Regions from separate parts of the Homo sapiens genome. Here region 1 is linked to region 2. Evidence: promoter capture Hi-C in human tissues and cell types (Jung and others, 2019). All regions are on one chromosome and are shown on one strand. Each heading gives the region's core, a stretch centred on a gene start or on the middle of the fragment in contact. The rest is flanking DNA. Distances are from core to core; before and after follow the strand shown.

The links. Contacts are between HindIII fragments. The study calls those that stand out against the background at their distance.
Region 1: a contact is called between a fragment that was not itself captured here and the fragment with the promoter of RPL35 in region 2, in 1 of the 25 tissues and cell types used here (lymphoblastoid cells).

Annotation. Positions count from the first base shown.
Region 1 is chr9:125,865,185-125,871,876 of GRCh38, forward strand. All of the region lies in intron 2 of PBX3 (PBX homeobox 3), which reads left to right. Among named protein-coding and RNA genes, the nearest start is that of PBX3, 120 kb to the left of the region's middle. The HindIII fragment of the contact is 4,796 bases long and covers 755-5,550 here.
Region 2 is chr9:124,859,815-124,866,406 of GRCh38, forward strand. RPL35 (ribosomal protein L35) reads right to left here and starts at 2,143. Exons shown (of 4, transcript NM_007209.4): 1 at 2,096-2,143; 2 at 1,605-1,741; 3 at 369-450. The coding sequence starts at 2,098. ARPC5L (actin related protein 2/3 complex subunit 5 like) reads left to right here and starts at 2,316. Exons shown (of 6, transcript NM_030978.3): 1 at 2,316-2,584; 2 at 4,174-4,293. RefSeq lists enhancers at 1-155, 1,644-2,267, 1,703-1,752, 1,793-1,902, 2,343-2,562 and 1 more and a silencer at 2,053-2,322. The HindIII fragment of the contact is 10,105 bases long and covers 1,854-6,592 here.

The DNA.
Region 1 (6,692 bases), core at 1,903-4,402, 1.0 Mb after region 2:
CATAATTGTGAGGAAAAATGATTTTCTATATGGCCAGAGGGCTCAAGGAAACTTCAGTACTTTTTTCTACGAAGAGGTCTTATTTCTTGTTTCCTGGAGAATAAGTCAGGAGCAATTACATGTGAGTATGTTCTTATATTAGGCCTAAATCATGTGTCTTTGTGAAAAGAAATTCAGTAATCTGAGAGAAAATAATTGTGTTTCTTAGGGAATTTCTGTAGTATCTTTTTGACTATATTTGTTCTAAATTATAGATTGTGGCCTTATCTGCAGTGCTTCATTAGATAGATGAAAATATAAGTTTCTTTCCATAATAATTTCTGTTTAGTATGATTTATAAAATTATTATTACTATGTTTTAACAGTAATCTGGATGTTTCTGGTCTCTCTAAATGAGCATGGACTCCATTCCTATAGCCCCAATGGGAATTTCAGTAATAAGGAAGAACAGATCTGATTGTTTTTGCATAACATTTCCCTTTTCAAAAGACCCCAAAGCTCCTTATAAATGGAAGGATGGTGTCACCTGTCTGGAGCACTAAACTCATTTAAGTCAAACCTATTATAAAAAAGCTAAGGATTAGAAGAGACAAAGATTATGTAGTTTTACCTGTAGAAGAATATGAAATTGTCATTAGCCTATAGCCTGTTTTCATAAGTGGTTGATGTGAGAAGACCTCTGAGAATCATGTAATTAAGTTAGGCTGGGTAATGTGTCAGGACAAAGTGTGTTATATGTAGCTTACCTGCTTGCGTGCCTTCCCTGTTTTTCCCCCAATTTTTTTCCCCCCACAAAAGAAAATAGCTTTTTTTTTTTTTGGATTATAAAAGAGTCTTTGCTAGCTGTTAAAATATTTAAAAAACATTGAAAAGTGTTTGAAAAAAGCAACGGTCACATAAATCCCATTGCTCAGAGATTACCACTCTTCTAAATAGTGCTAAACACATATATATTAATTTTCAAAAGTGAGTTAACTATGCTGTTGTGTAGCTGGCATCTTTCACTGAATAGTATATTGTGGATATCTTTCCATGTTAGCAAGTCATTCTATGTCATCATCTTTACTTGGCTGCATAATATTCCATGTTGCCTTTTTTGTCAGTTTTGTCACATACTGTGTATTTGCTTGAATCACAATTAAATATCTGTATAGTTATTTTATACTTTTATGGGGGGTTAGTTTAAAATATGGCATTATTCTAACTAGAAGTGAAATCATTAATTATTTACTGGTGCTTATTGTGTGTTAATCTCATTCTTTGCACTTAACTATCTGCTGCCCTTGTGGGGTTTACATTCTAGTGGAAAGAGAGGTAACATTATAGAACAGGTTAAAAAAGATGAACAAAGACATCTCTCTGCCTAGATTGTAAGAGGGAAACAAAGAAACAATCATCATGGCTATTTTATTAGAGGAATGAGAAAGGACCAGAGGCCTCTGTATGTGTCCGGGGAGGTTTACAGATTCATGGTTTTTCAGCTTCTATATCTCGTTTCTAGCTAACAGGGCTATCCTTTGTTCTAAAATGGCAGATGTTATTTGTAACTTTGTTTTAAAATAGCATAATATTTCTGCTTAAAAAATTTCAAAAATGTCAACAATGATTTTTCTTGAAAGTGTTAATATTCCTTCTTGACAGTATCCAAAGCTATACTTTGGTGATTTCCATGGTACCTCAATACTGAATTTGATTACTCTTTGATTAGGCAACTAAATTTTTTGTCTTACTTGCTTTTTTCACCCCTAAGTCATCCATAAAGACGTGATTTTCATGGTTGTGTTAGGTAAACATAAGTTGTACTACATATGTGTAATTACAAAGCAATTGTAATGGCAAATCTAGGGTCTTGTGACATCTGTTAGTAGGGATCTTCTTATCATATCCCTCAGTGATCATTTGACAAAAATAATACCATGAAGGGATTTCAAAGGAAGCTTGAGAAGTGTAGTTTAACAAGCACACAAATGATGCATTTCACCCTACATTGATGTCGTTAGGACCATTCACCATAGATGTGTCCCCGGTCCTCCCTGAAGTATTAAAAAAAAAAAATCAATTATTTGAATAAAAGAATAGAAGCCATGGGTAATACATTTTTAGATGTTTGAATTTTTAAATGTTGCTGGAGGAATAACTATTCAAGTGTAAAACCATGACTCTAAAAAACAAAATTGTTGGGTGTGGTGGCCCACACCTGTAATCCCAGCACTTTGGGAGGCCAAGGCGGGTGGATCATGAGGTCAGGAGTTCGAGACCAGCCTGGCCAACATAGTGAAACCCCATCTGTACTAAAAATACAAAAATTAGCTGGGCATGGAGGTGCGCACCTGTAATGCCAGCTACTCAGGAGGCTGAGGCAGGAGAATCACTTGAATGCGGGAGGTGGAGGTTGCAGTGAGCCGAGATGGCACCACTGCACTCCAATCTGGGCAACAAGAGCAAGACTCCATCTCAAAAAAAAAAAAAAAAACCACAAAAACAAACAAAACAAAATTTAGTAGATTATAATATTGCACCCAAATCAATTATGACAATGATGATTGTCTTTCTGTCTCTCTCTCTCTCTATATATATATACACACACATATATACACACATATACACACACATATATATACACATATATATATACACATACATATATATATACACACACACACATACATATATTTGTTTTGTTTTGCTTTTGTTTTGTTTTTTTGTTTTGAGACAAGGTCTTGTTTTGTTTCCCAGGCTGGAGTGCAGTGACACAGTCATGATTCACTGCAACCCTGACCTCCTGGTCTCAAGCTAGCCTCCCACCTCAGCCTTCCCAGTAGCTGGGACCACAGGTGTATGCCTCCACGCCTGGTAATTTTCATATTTTTTGTAGAGACAGGGTCTCACAATGTTGTCCAGGCTGGTCTCAAACTCCTTAACTCAAGTGATCTGGTCAACTCGGCCTTCCAAAGTGCTGGGATTACAGGTCTGAGCCACTACACCCAGACTGCAGTTTTTTTTTTTTACATGCTTCCTGTGTTCTAGGCACTGTGCCAAGCACTTTGTATGAATTTATTCATGTAGTTTTCATAAGAACCCTATGAGTAGGTACTGTTATACCCATTTTATAAAGAAAACGAAAACCAGAGATGTTACATTGATTTTATTTACATTTGAAAATAGATTGTAGTTCAGTTTCTAGCCATATGGGTAGATTGAATGTGCAGAAAAACCTCACCTGGCATAGAACACTTAAACATGCTGGCTGTACAGTAAAGAACTTCATTTCCAAAGCATGGCTGAGCCAGCGTAGTGAAGTAAGACATAATGTGGGCCAGAAGAAAGGACAGAGAGTGATTCCACAGATATGAGAGCTGGCATTTATTCCAGGGGCGTGGAGTAGGGGGTGTCTGTCAGTGCTGACCTAGAATGTAGGTTTTGAAGGCATATGTGCAGCTTAAGAAACAAAATCAGAGCTCTTCACATAAAGCCAGAACCTCTAAAAGGAGAGTACTCTCACAGAGTGAACTTGCCCATGGCCCCAGGTGAGACAGACCTTAGCGATACCCTACATTCAGTTGATTTGGTAATGGAAATCGTATTTTCCTTATGGCCCAAGAAGGTTCATGATGAAAATTCAGTTTGAAGTGAATTGTTAGTACTCCTAGGCATCTGTAAAATGCCTGTCTTTTCTGGAGGAAAGCACTTAAAACACAGGTGTCTAAAAATTCACACAGATGAATTTTTGAGGGCCACAGGCTCACAATTAAACAATGAAGAAGCAGAAAAAAAGAAAATGCCTGAGTTAAAAAAGCCACCATGACTATGAGATAGCAGCAACATCAAACTGCAGGATCAGGCTGAGAAAGTCTGAAGATATTTGTATCATCAGGTACAGCAAATAAGGTAAGCATATTTTTTAAAAATTCAAGATTGAAAGTATGTTGAACCAAACAGGACACCATTAAAAGTAATAAGACAGATGTAAAAAGCAAAGAAAATTCTTAGAAATGGCTTAAGATGAGAATTAGCGGACAATGGATATGAAGAAATTACCTAGCATACAGTACAACAAAGAGATAGAAATATGAAAAAGATGTTAAGAGGATAGAGTAAGAAAGCCCAACAAACATTTAATTTATGGTTCCAGAAATAAAGAATTAAAAAATTGGAGAAGAAGCAATATTCAAGTAGATATTTAGCTGAGAATATGTCAGAATTGATGAAATATACTGGTATTCAAATAGGTAGCTCGGTGAATTCTAACTGGGATGAATGGGAAGATAACATCACCAAGGAGTATTATAATGAAACTGCAGAACCCAAAAGATTAAAGAAAAAACATTCTCTAAATCAGAGAAAAGAGCAACAATGAATAAACAGACAGCTAACTTCTCAGCAGGAGCAATATGAGCTAGAATCAATGAAATAATTTCAAAGTGCTAAGAGAAATTAGCTAGAATTATCAACCTAGAATTGTCTTTCCATGGAAAATACCTGGAGCATGGGCAAAATAAAGGTATCTTCAGACTCATAATTGAAAGCTTTCACTACCAATAGAATTCCACTAAAATAATTTCTAAAGGATATATTTTAAGAAAAAAACAAAAACCCTCAGAAGGAATGTCTGAGTAGCAACAATAATGAGAAAGGAAAATAGGAAATTTGTGGATGAGTATTGACCATGTAAAAATTTTTGGTAAAATTTGTGGATAAGGGTAAACCATGTGTATTAGTCCCTTTTCACGCTGCTGATAAAGACATACCTGAGACTGAGTAATTTATAAAGAAAAAGAGGTTCAGTGGACTCACAGTTCCACGTGTCTGGAGAGGCTTCACAATCATGGCGAAAGGCACATCTTTTTTTTTTTTTTTTTCTGAGACGGTCTCAGTCTGTTGCCCAGGCTGCACTATCTCAGCTCACTGAGACAGTAGCACTATCTCAGCTCACTGAGACAGTAGCACGATCTCAGCTCCCTGCAACCTCTGTCTCATGGGTTCAAGGGATTCTCCTGCCTCAGCCTTCCAAGTAGCTGGGATTGCAGGTGTGCGCCATCATGCCTGGCTAATTTTTGTGTTTTTAGTAGAGATGGGGTTTCACCATGTTGGCCAGGCTGGTCTCAAACTCCTGACCTCAAGTGATCCACCCGCCTTGGCCTCCCAAAGTGCTGGGATTACAGGTGTGAGCCACCACGCCCAGCTGAAAGACTCATCTTACATGGTGGCAGACGAGAGAATTTGTGGAAGGAAACACCCCCTTATAAAACCATCATATCAGGCTGGGTGATCTGACAGAGCTAGACACTGTCAAACAAACAAACAAACAAACAAAAAAACCCCATCACATCTCATGAGACTTATTTACTATCATGAGAGCAGCTCAGGAAACACCCACTCCCGTGATTCAGTTACATCCCACTGGGTCTGTCCCACAAATTGTGGGAGCTACAATTCAAGATGAGGTTTGGGTGGGGACACAGCCAAACCCTATCACCATGTAAAATAATATCTAATTTGTAGAGATTAAAGAACAAGATAACTTAAATCTTGGATGTAAGTTAAGAGAGTGGTGGTCAGAGTTAAATCATTTTAAGGTTCATTTATTGTCTGGACAAGAATAAAATTTTGATTATCAGGAAATACAAGTAAAACCACAGGGAGACATTGTTTATATACCAAATTGTCAAAAATTACAAAGTCTTATAATACCAAGTTTTGCTGAGGGTGTGGAGCAACAGAAACTTTTGTTCACTGGTGGGTATATAAATTGAATAATTTCAGCTTGGAACATTACCTAGCAAAATTGAAGGCATGTATACGTACATACCCTACCAATCTAGCAATTCCACTTCTAGATATAAAGTCTTGAAAAACTCACATGTATACCAGAGACGTGTAAAAAGTTGTTTAAATCATTATTGTAAACAATGGCTAAAAACTAGAAAAAATAGGCCGGATGCAGTGGCTCACGCCTGTAATCCCAGCACTTTGGGAGGCCGAGGTGGGCAGATCATGAGGTCAGGAGTTTGAGACCAGCCTGGCCAACATAGTGAAACCCCATCTCTACTAAAAATACAAAAATTAGCCAGGTGTGGTGGTGGGTGCTTGTAGTCCCAGCTATAGGCTGAGGCAGAAGAATCACTTGAACCCGGGAGGTGGAGCTGAAATTGCGCCACTGCACTCCAGTCTGGGTGACAGTGCAAGACTCCGTCTCAAAAAAAAAAAAAAAATCTAAAAAAACCCAGGTGTTCATGAATAATAAAATGGACAACAATAATGAATAGGTCAACAATGGAATATGACACAGCAATGAGTAGGAATGAACTCTTCCACATTCAAGAACATAATAGCACATGTAGAATGTTGAATGAAAGAGCAAGGTATAACAGAAAACATTATATAATTCCATTTATATAAAATTCAAACAAAGTAAGAATGAAGCTATAGTGTTAGGGCTGCATAGATGGTAATGTTATTAAAAGGACTGAAATATCTTACTGATAAATCTTTGTATTGATTATAGGTTACAATGATAATATTTCCAATATATTGGGTTAATTAAATATATTACAATTAGTTTTACTTTAAAAAAGCTTTAAAATGTGACTGCTAGAGAATTTAAAATTACATATGGGGTTCTCATTACATTTCTATGGGACAGAGCTCTAGAGGCAAAAATAGAATTGATATTGAGATAGGGCACAAAGGTG
Region 2 (6,592 bases), core at 893-3,392:
AAATGAGCATGGCAGGTGCCTGGCAGGGACTGACACCCAGTGCCAGTAAGAGGCAGTGAAAACCTTCAACAGCCAGTCCTATCACTGCCCAAGCCACTCAACTGGGAAGGCTGGTTTCAAAAACTGAGTCTCCAGCCAGGACACCCCAAGCCCCAATGAATTCTTGACATCTGCAGCCTGAGGAAGTGGTCTGCAGAGCCACGTGCCAGTGCAAGACACTGGTAGAAGAGTGAGCCCAGCAACAAATTGGGAAGGCTAACCACTCTCAGCCCACGCACCAAGAAAAACCTCTTTACCATGTCCCCGGCCAGGGACGGCTAGCACTTGGCTTCCTGCAGCCAACCCTCCCTATGTCCAGGCAGACTCACCTTGTAGAATTTCCTGAGGTTTTCTTTCTGAGTCTGGTTAATAACTGTGAGAACACGGGCAATGGATTTCCGGACGACTCGGCTACAAAACAGAGATGTCAGTGAAGATAGGGAAGACACATAGCACTACCCAAGACTCAGGACTCACACATAGGGCAGCAATAGCTGCAGCCTCCCCCATCAACCCATCCATATTCACTCAGGAGGAAGGCGTTCTGGGAGTGAGGTCTGAGGAGGGAAGAGAGGGGCATGGGAGAGACAGCAGAGGCTTTATGAGGAAGTGCAGGCTGGATAAATGAGGCAGATCAGAAAAAGACCTTCAATCCCAGAACACGAATTTATCCTGAGGGCTAAGACCCAACCAATGCCAATTTCAATGAGCTGATGGGAAGGAATCATGCCACAAACCAGGCAATCAGGCTAGCTTAGGGAACTGCAGGAGAGAGAAACAAGACATTTGCAAAGTGGAGTCACTACAAGCCAGGAGACTGAAGCAAACAACGAGCCAGGGAGAAGTTATTTGTAGTCATGTCAGGATGAGGGAGTCACCTAGTAGACAGCTGGTCAACATGGTTTTTGAGGATTCAGTGTGCAACTGTGCTTGTCCAATCCTCCCACCCCTGCCTCTACTAAGGTTGTTTGGGGGCAAAGAGGGCAACCACCATTTTTTTTTTTTGGAGACAGGGTCTCACCTGTCAACCAGACTGAAGAGCAGTGGCCCCATCATAGCCTCCCAACTCCTGGGCTCAAGTGATCCTCCTGCCTCAGCCTCCAGAGTAGCTGGGACTACAGGCCTGTACCACCACACCCATCTAATTTTTTTTTGAGAAGTGGACTTTGTACCCAGGTTGATGAACTCCAAACCCATGTTCCTTTCACAAGTCTCCCGCACTCTTAGCCATGTAAAATAACTTACGCTGCCACTCCAGGGTGCAAGCCACCCACCTGCCAAGGGGGTTAAAAACTCAAGTGTTGGTGGGAAGCGGAAGGAAGGGGTCCGGGTAGGCTTTGAAGGCAGCATTAAGATGGGTCTCCGGGGATGCATTCCAGGCACAAGGACCGCAAGGTCAAGGCAGGTAAGAGGCTAAGCACACAACGGGTCTCCCATGCGCGCCAGGATGCACGGAGTGGGCATCTAAGCGGCCAGCTCCTTAAGCCAACTTTGAAATCCTCCGACGATCCCGATGCACACGTGCTCCCCACCCACGAGGGCTGTGATCCGGCCGCCTCACTTACATCTTAGAGAGCTTGGAGGCCGCACCGCCTGTCACTTTGGCGACGCGCAGCTGGGACAGCTCCACCTTCAGGTCGTCCAGCTGTTTCAGCAGCTCCTCCTTCTTCTTCCCGCGAAGATCTCGAGCCTTGATCTTGGCCTGCGCGCAAGAGAGAGTGTGCCTCAGCCAGGCCGCGGGGCCATATCCCCTTCACCTGCGTGGCCAGCCCCCAAAGGCGCGCGACTCGCCATCGACTACGAGTGCGCCGGAGCCCCAACCAGGGCTCAGGACAGTCTCCCTCGCCGGCCGTGCCTTGGGCAGAGTAACCCAGGCCCGGGCCGCGCGCCTCTCCCGGCGCCAAGCGAAGAGGCGGGTTGTGGTGGCGCCAGACCATTCTGCGCGGCGCCCCACAGGCCTAGGTGGCAGATAGAATCCGCGGGCTCAGCCCGCACCGCCTTCCCCAACCCCCGCGCCTCACAGCGCTCGGATGGCGCCCGATTCCGCAGCTCTCACCATTGCTGCACAAGCCGCCAACGCCGCCGCCCGCTCCGAGGGAAAGAGGAAGTAGGCGGGGCTGACCTCCGCAACTACTGCCGGGTGGCGGCGGGCGCGGCCAATGGCGCCGCAGCGGGGGAGCCCCGGCTCCGCCTCATCTCCCCCGCCCCCGAGGAACGCCGTGGTACTGCCCGCCCCGCCTGGTAGGGCCGGAGCCCCGCCTTGTAGTGCTCGCCTCATTCACGGCACCCCTGATAGCGAGGTCGGCGTCACGGTGTAGGCGCGCAGTTGGGGAAACCGAGGCCCAACGTGGGCGGCAGCTACCAGAGATGGCACACGGAGGACTCAAATTCGTCCATTCAGTCATTCGTTCATTCATTCCTTCGGGAAACCTTGCAGATCTCCCAATCTGGGCAACTCTGAGCTGGGCGCCAGTAGTCTGGGGGTGCTGACGGGAGGAGGGGCCAGAGTTTTCAAAGACGATTAACCGAGGCTCACGTCGCGGAGGAATTTAAAGCGCGAGATGGACGGGAGGGGCGGGCTCAGGCAGTTATAATCCAACTCCATAAAGGTTCTGGGGAGGCAGTATATGGAACTGCAAAGAGCATTTACACCTTTTTTTTTTTTTTTTTTTTTGAGACAGAGCTTCATTCTGTCGCCCAGGGTGCCAGGCTGGAGTGCAGTGTCGCGATCTCGGCTTACTGCAACCTCCGCCTCCCGGGTTCAGCGATTCTCCTGCCCCAGCCTCCCGAGTAGCTGAGTAGCTGGGATTACAGGCATGCACCACCACGCCTGGCTAATTTTTTGTATTTTTAGTAGAGACGGGGTTTCGCCATGTTGCCCAGGCTGATCTTGAACTCCTCAGCTCAGGTGATCCCCTCGCCTCGGCCTCCCAAAGTGCTGGGATTACAGGCGTGAGCCACCACGCCTGGCCCCAGCCTTTATTTATTTTTTTTATTTTTTAATTTTTTTTTTCAGACAGGGTCTCGCTCTGTCACCCTGGCTGGAAGGCATGGCGCGCTCTCCGCCCACCAAAACCTCCGCTTCCCGGGTTCAAGCAGCCCTCCCACCTCAGTCTCCCGAGTAGCTGAAACTACAGGCACAAGCCACCAGGCCTGGCTAATTTGTTTATTTTTTGTAGAGCTGTTGCCCAGGGTGGTCTCCTGGGCTCAAGCAATCCGCCCTCCTCGGCCTCCCAGAGTGCCTAGGATTACAGGGGTTAGCCACCTCGCCTGGCCATACAGCCTTTTTTATTTTTATTTTATTTTTTATATATTTTTTGAGATGGAGTCTGGCTCTGTCGCCTAGGCTGGAGTGCAGTGGCGCGATCTCGGCTCACTGCAACCTCCACCTCCCGGGTTCAAGAGATTCTCCTGCCTTGGCCTCCCCAGTAACTGGGACTACAGGTGTGTGCCACTACACCCAGCTAAATTTTTGTATTTTTAGTAGAGACAAGGTTTAGCCAGGCTGGTCTCAAACCCCTGACCTCAAGTGATCCACCCGCCTCAGCCTCCCAAAATACTGGGATTACAGGTGTGAGCCACTGCGCCCGGCTAGTACAGCCTTTTTTAAAGTGAACCTGACCAGGTTTCAAATTCTTGCTCTGCTGCCAAGGTAGTAGTTGAGACTCTTGGGAAATCTCTTCCCCTTTCTTGAGTCTCAGTTTGCTCACATGTGAAATGAGGCATTTATGAGAATTAGAGGAGATATCTGTAAAGCTGTTAACCCGAAATCTGACGCATAACAATGGCTCAAAATATCATTGGTGTTCATGTTCCCAGAGGAAGGAACACTTCAGTAGAGCCCGGAAAGTGAAACGGGAATTCACAAGGCAGGGCATGTTTAGGCTTTCTGATTAATGTCTGCCAACCAGTAGGCATTAATCAGCACTCCAGTGCCACTCCCTTGCCCTTAATAAAGACATGCCACCTCTTAGAGTTATGGTTGAAGCCAGATTGTCCTCTTGTTACTACCAGCTGTAACCACCCACAAGGAGACTTCTCCCATCTCCTATGAGTAGCAACCTCTGTGCAATCCTTTCCTTAGCCCCAAACAGGCTGAAATAAAATGATGCATTTATGTGTCTATTTCCACAGCCAACCTAGAAGTTCTCTGGGGACAGAACCTTGGCGGACAACTGAATTAATTGTTCTAGTCTCCAGGCCCAGTACATGGATGCTTGTTGGATGAATTAATGAACCTTGACCCACACCAAGGTGAGGAAGGCTTTCAGGAGGTGGAGGGATATGGGGAAAAAAGAGAGTAGAGAGAGGGCAATCCCGGCATGGCTTAGACTTTTTTTTTTTTTTTTTGAAATGGAGTCTTGCTGTGTCACCCAGGCTGGAGTGCAGTGGCACAATTTCAGCTCACTGTAACCTCCACCTCCCAGGTTCAAGCGATCCTTGTGCCTCAGCCTCCTGAATAGCTGGGATTACATAGGTGCGTGCCACCATGCCCGGCTAATCTTTGTATTTTTGTTTTTTTCCAAAATGGAGTCTTGCTCTATTGCCCAAGCTGGAGTGCAGGGGCACAATCTCGGCTCTCACTGCAACCTCTGCCTCCCAGGTTCAAGCGATTCTCCTGCCTCAGCCTCCCGAGGAACTGGGAATACAGGCATGCACCACCAAGCCAAGCTAATTTTTGTTTTTTTAGTAGAGACGGGGTTTCACCATATTTCACCTGGCCACCATGTTGGCCAGGCTGGTATTGAACTCTTAACCTTGTGATCCGCCTGCCTTGGCCTCCCAAAGTGCTGGGATTACAGGTGTGAGCTGCCGCGCCTGGCCCATCTTTGTATTTTTTGTAGGGACGGGGTTTCGCCAGGGTGGTCTCAAACTCCTGACCTCAAGAGATCCGCCTGCCTCAGCCTCCCAAAGTGCTGCGATTACAGGCATGAGCCACGGCGCAGTGCGCCTGGACCTTTTTTTTTTTTTGAGACTGAGTTTCATTCTTGTTGCCCAGGCTGGAGTGCAATGGCACAATCTCGGCTCACTGCAACCTCTGCCTTCTGGGTCCAAAGGATTCTTCTGCCTCAGCCTCCCAGCCTGCCTACAGCTACTGTAATCCAAGTAGCTGGGATTACAGGTGCCGCCATGATGCCTGGCTAATTTTTATATTTTTAGTAGAGACGGCATTTCACCACGTTGGCCAGGCTGGTCTCAAACTCCTGACCTCAGGTGATCCACCTGTCTCGGCCTCCCAAAGTGTTGGGATTACAGGTGTGAACCACTGTACCTGGCCGGCATAGCTTAGTCTTAAATGAAAGTCTAGGCCGGGCGTGGTGGCTCACGTGGTGCACGCCTGTAATCCCAGCTACTCTGGAGGCTGAAGCAAGAGAATCGCTTGAACCCAGAGGCAGAGGTTGCAGTGAGCCGAGATCGGGCCATTGCACTCCAGCCTGGGTGACAAGAGGGAAACTCTGTCTAAAAAAAAAAAAAAAAAAAAAGGAAAGTCTAATGGTGCACAGTGCCTTTGCTGTTATATTTTTAAATGCTTAGAGTTAATGACTCTGCACATCTTTTTCGAACCTGAAGTCATTTGTGACTCTCTCTTACACGCCACATCTAGTCAACCAGTAAATTCCAGGTACTCTACCTTCAAAATTTACCCAACTTAAGGCCGGGTGAGGTGGCTCACGTCTGTAATCCTAGCACTTTGGGAGGCCAAGGCAGGTGGATCACCTGAGGTCAGGAGTTCGAGACCAGCCTGGCCAACATGGTGAAACCGTGTCTCTACTAAAAATACAAAAAAAATTAGCCGGGCATGGTGGCGGGTGCCTATAATCACAGCTATTCGGGAGGCTGAGGCAGGAGAATTGCTTCAACCCAGGGGGCAGAGGTTGCAGTGAGCCAAGATTGCGCCACTTCACTCAAGCCTGGGCGAAAGAGCAAAACTCCATCTCAAAAAAACAAAAAACAAAAAAAACAAAATTGGGACTGGGCGTGGTGGCTCACACCTGTAATCCCAGCACTTTGGGAGGCCAAGGCGGGCAGATCATGAGGTCACGAGTTCGAGACCAGCCTGACCAACATGGTGAAAACCTGTCTCTACTAAAAATATAAAAATTAGCCAGGCGTGGTGGTGTGCACCTGTACTCCCAGCTACTTGGGAGGCTGAGGCAGGAGAATCACTTGAACCCTGGAGGCGGAGGTTGCAGTGAGCTGAGGTTGGGCCACTGCACTCTAGCCTAGGCGACACAGTGAGACTCCCTCTTAAAAAAACAAAAAAACAGGTCAGGCGCAGTGGCTCACGTCTGTAATCCCAGCACTTTAGGAAGCCGACGCAGGTGGATCACCTGAGGTCAGGAGTTTGAAACCAGCCTGGCCCACATGGTGAAACCCTGTCTCTACTAAAAATACAAAAATTAGCCAGGTGTGGTGGCAGGTGCCGGTAATCCCAGCTACTCCAGAGGCTGAGGCAGGAGAATCACCTGAACCCTGGAGGTGGAGGGTGCAGTGAGCTGAGACTGTGCCACTGCACTCCAGCCTGGGCAACAGAGTGAGGCTCCATCTCAAA